2 separate regions of the Homo sapiens genome follow, and region 1 is linked to region 2. The links are contacts of gene promoters, found by promoter capture Hi-C in blood cells and fetal thymus (Javierre and others, 2016). All regions are on one chromosome and are shown on one strand. The core of a region is centred on a gene start or on the middle of the fragment in contact, and the rest is flanking DNA. Distances in the headings are between cores, read along the strand shown. Region 1 has its middle 64 kb from the start of LINC00501. Region 2 holds the start of FNDC3B (fibronectin type III domain containing 3B).

Region 1 (2,700 bases), core at 134-2,633, 5.3 Mb before region 2:
CGTCGGGGTCGCTGCCGCCCAGCCCAGGCGGGGCTCGGGTTCCCGCTCCTCTGATGTTTACGTTTGGTCAAAAACTCCTCAGACAGAAATAACTAATGCCTCCCCCCGGAAGCTTTTACCACGTGGCAGAGTGGGGTCACAAAGGGGGGAGCAGTGGCACGAAGGGGATGGGGAGGAAGACCTCCCTGTTCCCTCCCCCACCCTGCAGGGGCCTTCCTCTTAGGCTGCAGAGCCGAGGGTCGCTCTCCGTGGTGGAGTTCCCTCTGCAGAAGACCCCTGGAAAATTGCACTTCAGCAGTGGTGACATTTTATAGGCCATGATTTGCTGCATTTATGGCTCTGGCAGTGCAGGTGCGGAGTCGTAGGCTCCCGTTCTCACCCTGCAAATTGCTCACAGTGCAATCTGTCATCTTCAAGGCTAGGTGTGAACCGGGCAGGGTTGCCCTTAAAACGGAATTGCAGTTAAAGGCCGGGATCTGGAAGGAAGCGCTCTACCCCGGGGCGTGGCCTTTCCCACCGGCTCTGGACCTTTCCTTCAAGCCCCGCCATGCGCGCCCACCGACTTGGCTGTCGCAGCCTGGGGGCACTGGGCGCCCTGGGCTCTGCCTGCCTGCAGAGCTCTCATTCTTTCCGTTCCAGGCCTGTGGAATCCTCCAGTGAACAAGGCCTCATGCTGGCCTCTGCCCCACCCCACTGCGAGGAGCCGCTCCTCCTCCGAGGCCTATGGTTTTTCTCCCCGCGGAGTGGGCTTGGTGGGAGCACCGCGTGGCGCAAACAGCACGGGGGGACTTTGGAATCGCCTGGACTTGAGCCCTGCCCCACCACGTGTTCGCTGTGTGAATGTGGACAGGGTGGTTACCCTCTCTACAGCCCGCGTCTTAAAATGGGAGTAGTAACAACCCCCTCAACAGTTGTTCTGAGGATTAAGTGAAATTCAGATTTCATAGGAGACCTTTTTCAATAGTCAAGTCTCTCGCCTTTATGAGTCAAGTTCCACTGGGGCCAGAGGCCCTGTGGTTGTTTCTGAAAACAAGGTCAGCAGAAGTGCTAGACCCATTGTTTCCTCAACTCAGCCCTTCCCCCTACACTCCTGGCAAAGTGGAGCCCGCAGCCTCTTCCGACCCACTTCCACCTTCACCCACACCCACAGGCTTACAGGGCAGAGCTGTTTTGTTGACGGGGCGGGGGTGGGGGTGGGGACGTGGAAACTGTACCTCTGACCTAAGCTGGACCATTCACGGCCCTTCTCAAATTTCCCTCCCCCACCTTGCCACAGGGGATTGGTCCCAGCGGGAAGAGCTGACATATTTGAATCCAATCAAAAGCCTTCTTGGGAAATTTTGAAACTGGAAGTGAAAAAGTCAGTTTCTCCCCAGGGCTAAAACTGCAAGATATTATAACATACATGACCATGTTTCCCATGGTCAGGAGAGGAGAGGCAAGGCCAATCTGAAGGCAGAAACAGAGATAAAGATCGAGCAGAAAACAAAGATAGAGCCTCAGCCACAGCCAGACAGGCTGGGAGAGAGCGCTGAGGCCAACAGGAGTCTAATGTTATTGGCAGCATCGGTTCCTGTGTCCCTGGTACAGCCCTGCCTGCCCCCGATTCCTTGCGACAGCCCATTATTTTTTGCCACAAATTCTTATTGTTTAACCTAGTTTGTGTTTTTGTTGCTTCTAATCCAAAAATCCCATGGCATTTACTAGTTTAACTTACACAGTATGTCAGTTGAGTTCAAGAGCTCCCCAGCCCCATTATAACCCCCCGAGAAGTCTTCTATCCTCCGCAGCATATGTCAGTGCCCCATAACAAGGTGCTCAATAAATGCTCTTCAGATTGCACTGAGCAAGTTGTGAGTGGACGGGAAGTGCCCTGGTGGCTGTTGAAACTGGAGGCTTCAACTGGTTAATTTAAAGGGGAAGCATCGCCAATTGCCACAGACTTCTAGAAGCCCATTTATTGTACCCTAGTGGTAATTAGGGCTTATTCAAGTGAATAGAAAGAGAAAAGAGAAGAAACTTTATCCCCTCTAAATTGCATTTAATAAAAATCTTGGAGAAAATGAGTGAATTGTCAGGCTTAATAATTTCCCCTGGGTCTTTGTTGGAGGGAGGCTGAGGAAATGTACAGTATTCTACATTTATAGGACAGCAGATCTGCATTTTAACAGAGTAAAATGCAGTCGTGGCTTACCCTCCTTTTTTCCCCCTTCATTTGTTTCCAAAGGGTTTTTTTCCAGCTCATGAGTCACTTCCAGTCAGATTCAAAGACAAAAGCCGGCTAATTGTGTGTCCATGAGTCAGGGTCCCACCCTGCCTTATCTGAACACCCTTTCTAGCTCTGAGAAGACAGAGCAATTTTCAGCCTATAAGGCATTGAGTGGAACCTGTTACACACCGCTTCTGGGTCAGGCTCTTTAGGGAGCAGTCCAGGCCCTTCCATTTCCTTCTGGCATCTGGCAGCTGATAGCACCTTGGGGTGTTTCCTTGCCAGTGTTATTTTCAGTCAGGAACTGTGCAGTCTACCCTGTTCCTAAGGCACCCTGTTGAGCCCAGAGAGATAAAGGTGAATTTAAAAGGAGGTCTAAACCCTCTAGCAATTTATCATATAATGAAGGAGAAAGGCAGAAAAGAATCACTGTTAGACAAGCTTTGAGGGTTATGGAAGAGTAAGTGCTAAGACTAATGATTTCTCAGTCT
Region 2 (2,700 bases), core at 157-2,656:
TTCGTCTGGGATGGCAGGGTGGGAGCTGAGATTCCAAAAGCTCCAACTCCGACCGCGCACTCCTGGAAGCCTCCCCGCCAAAGGCGCCGCCGGGCGGCGCAGCCCAGTCTCCCGAGACGGCGGGCCCGGGTCCTCCGGTTCCCACGGGACGCCGGGACCCGGACCTCTGGGAAAGTTCGCGGGCACAGCCCGAGGCCCCACTTTCTGCCGAGAGTGACAGGCCCTTCCCACGCCTGCCGGCCCCAGCCCAGCCGCGGGCACCAGACGGTCCGCGCGGCCCCTCCTGGCCGCCTCGGGGCGCAGATTCCGCCCGCCCGCCCTATCCCCGGCCGAGGCGCCCCTCGGGGTGACCGACTGACCGGAGCTCCGCTGGCCCACACACCGGGTCGCCCGCTCCTTCCCGCCGCGCCCCGCTCCCCCGCCCGAGCTTCCAGCCGCCGGCTCGCCAAGTCCGGCCGCGGCCGCCGGTTACCGCCCCCAGCCCGGGGGGAGCCCGGGGGGCAGGACGGGGAGGAGGACGTGGCGTGCTCGGAGGTGGCCAGCAGCGGGGCGGGGAGTGTCCCGGAGAGGCCCAGCCGGGGACGGGGGGGCCAGGCCGGCGCGGGCTCGGGACCCTCCCCGCGAGCATCCCCGGGTTCGAGGCCCCCGACCGCCCCCGCCGGCGCGGAGAGGCGGCCCCAACTTCCAGCCCCACTTCGCACTCCCGCCCTCTTCCCTCCACCATATGGAAATCTACAGCCTCAGAAAGTGACACGTCGAAGATTCCTCGGCCTCGCCGCCCGCCCTCCCCCTCCTGGGCAGCGTTCCTGCCGCGGAGATTCCGGGAGGGGGAGCGGATTCCTCGGACAAAATCTGCTGGGAAGGCTGGGGGTGGGGGGAGGCCGCGAGCCACTGCCCAATTTTTTTTAAGAGGAATCTACCCGTTTCTTTCACTCCTCCAAACCCTGAGGCAGGGGGCACAGGCGGGGGACCCCAGCCCAGCAAGGCGGGGGCCGCCCCCTCCCGGGTCCCGTGTTCCCGGGGTGCCCAGGCGAGCACGGGGCGCCCCAGCACTCCGGCGCCAAGTTTTTGCCGGGAAGCCCAGGGCGCTCCCGGGACAGGGACGCACTTTGGCGGACTCGGCGTCAGGCCGGGGCTTTCCAGTGCACCGGGACCCGGCGATCGCGCTCGGGGTCCCGGTCTCCTCTAGTCCCCGGCTCTTGCACGCCTTACCTTCCCTAGGGCTGAAACGCGGGGCTCTGGGCGCGCCACACACCGGGTCGCCCACGCCTTCCCAGCCGGCAGCCTGGAGGATCCCTGCCGCCCCCTTCGCTGCTCCCGCCGCCGCCGCTCTCCTCCTCCAGCCGCCGCCGCCGCCGCTCAAATAACTACCAGGAGGGTTTGATGGGGGATTCCGCCATGTCAATGATGTCGGGACCACATGGGGATTTGGGGCCCGCCCATTACCGTAAACCGCCGAATATACCGGCCGCCACAATCGCAGACTCGCAGAAGCTGTTGTCCCCCGGCCCTGCCTAGCTAAGCAGAAACTCCTTTTGGTTCAGCCAGACTAAAGAAACCTGAGGCTTAGGGAACTAACAACTCCTGAATGGCGAGGGCTGCGCGTTCTGCAGATCGCCAAAGTAATATAAAGGCAATGTTTACTCAGTGATAATTAAGCCTAAAACTGACTTTTTTTCATTTACACATATATTTCGCTTTTTGTTGTTGTTAACCCCCACAGCAACCTTGTGAGCTATATTACTCCCACATTTCCCACAGCATTTTATTCATACAACTAACATAGTATGAGCAATTTTTATTATACTTAAGTTAAAATCTCTCTTTCCTCTTTCTTTTTGTTTTTTGTTTTTTGTTGTTGTTGTTGTTTGTTTTGGGGACTGCAGGCACGGGGCAGGCATGAGCCACCGCACCCTTTTTTTTTTTTTTTTTTTTTCCTTTTTTGGAAGAGAGGGGGTCTCAATAGGTTGCCCAGGCTGGTCTGGAACTCTGTCGCTCAAGTGATTCTCCCGCCTTGGCCTCCCAAAGTGTTGAGATTACAGGCGTGAGCCAACTCACCCAGCCTTATTTCACAATGCGTTTCTCAGGGACAAAGACTGTTTCTTACTTTTATCTTTATATCCGTAAAATATAGCACAGTGCAAGGACCACAATAGGACTCATTAAATAACTGTTGAGTTCATATTAAGTCAAATGTAATGTATTTCTGTTGTACAGGCTCTAAGAGGTTAACAGACTGCATCCCATGCCACCCCTCAGATTATTCAGGAGACAAGAGAGCAAAAGTTAGCCTAGAGAAGCCCCTTCCATCCATAGCTGTCCAGGTATTCTGAATAGCTACATTCAGCCTCAACTATTAAGCTACAAAGGAGCATTCAGGGAGTCACTAGAGACAATGTATTACTTTTGTTAACCTAAAAAATAATAATAGCAGTACATAATACTCTGTTAAAGTCTAAAGAACACTAAGAAATAGCTCCTTCCTTCCCTTGTTCATTTGCCATTCTTTTGGGGAGATTTTAGCCTTTTTTTTTTTTTTTTGGAGGCAATGGTGAGTCCAGAGAAATGGGGACCTCTCTCCTAAATGGCTTATTTACTGTGGAGCTCCTCAAAGGGGAACTTGAAGCCATCTTTCTATAACATAACTCCAATTCTAGGTCATAGTCCTGCATGAGAAGCCGGGGCGGGGGGTAGGCAGTA

What was found. The method cuts DNA at HindIII sites, captures the fragments that hold promoters and counts their contacts. A CHiCAGO score of 5 or more calls a contact.
Region 1: a fragment that was not itself captured here is called in contact with the fragment with the promoter of FNDC3B in region 2 in 2 of 17 cell types (naive B cells and total B cells); the score reaches 11.1 in naive B cells.

The regions. Positions count from the first base shown.
Region 1 is chr3:177,357,213-177,359,912 of GRCh38, reverse strand. No RefSeq gene overlaps it. Among named protein-coding and RNA genes, the nearest start is that of LINC00501, 64 kb to the right of the region's middle. RefSeq lists enhancers at 1-32, 1-384, 1,058-1,352, 1,239-1,478, 1,599-1,798. The HindIII fragment of the contact is 2,538 bases long and covers 115-2,652 here.
Region 2 is chr3:172,038,284-172,040,983 of GRCh38, reverse strand. It overlaps FNDC3B (fibronectin type III domain containing 3B), which reads right to left and starts at 1,406. Exons shown (of 26, transcript NM_022763.4): 1 at 1,213-1,406. RefSeq lists silencers at 54-423, 484-733, 914-1,013, 1,154-1,333 and enhancers at 252-918, 919-1,586. The HindIII fragment of the contact is 7,479 bases long and covers 1-2,700 here.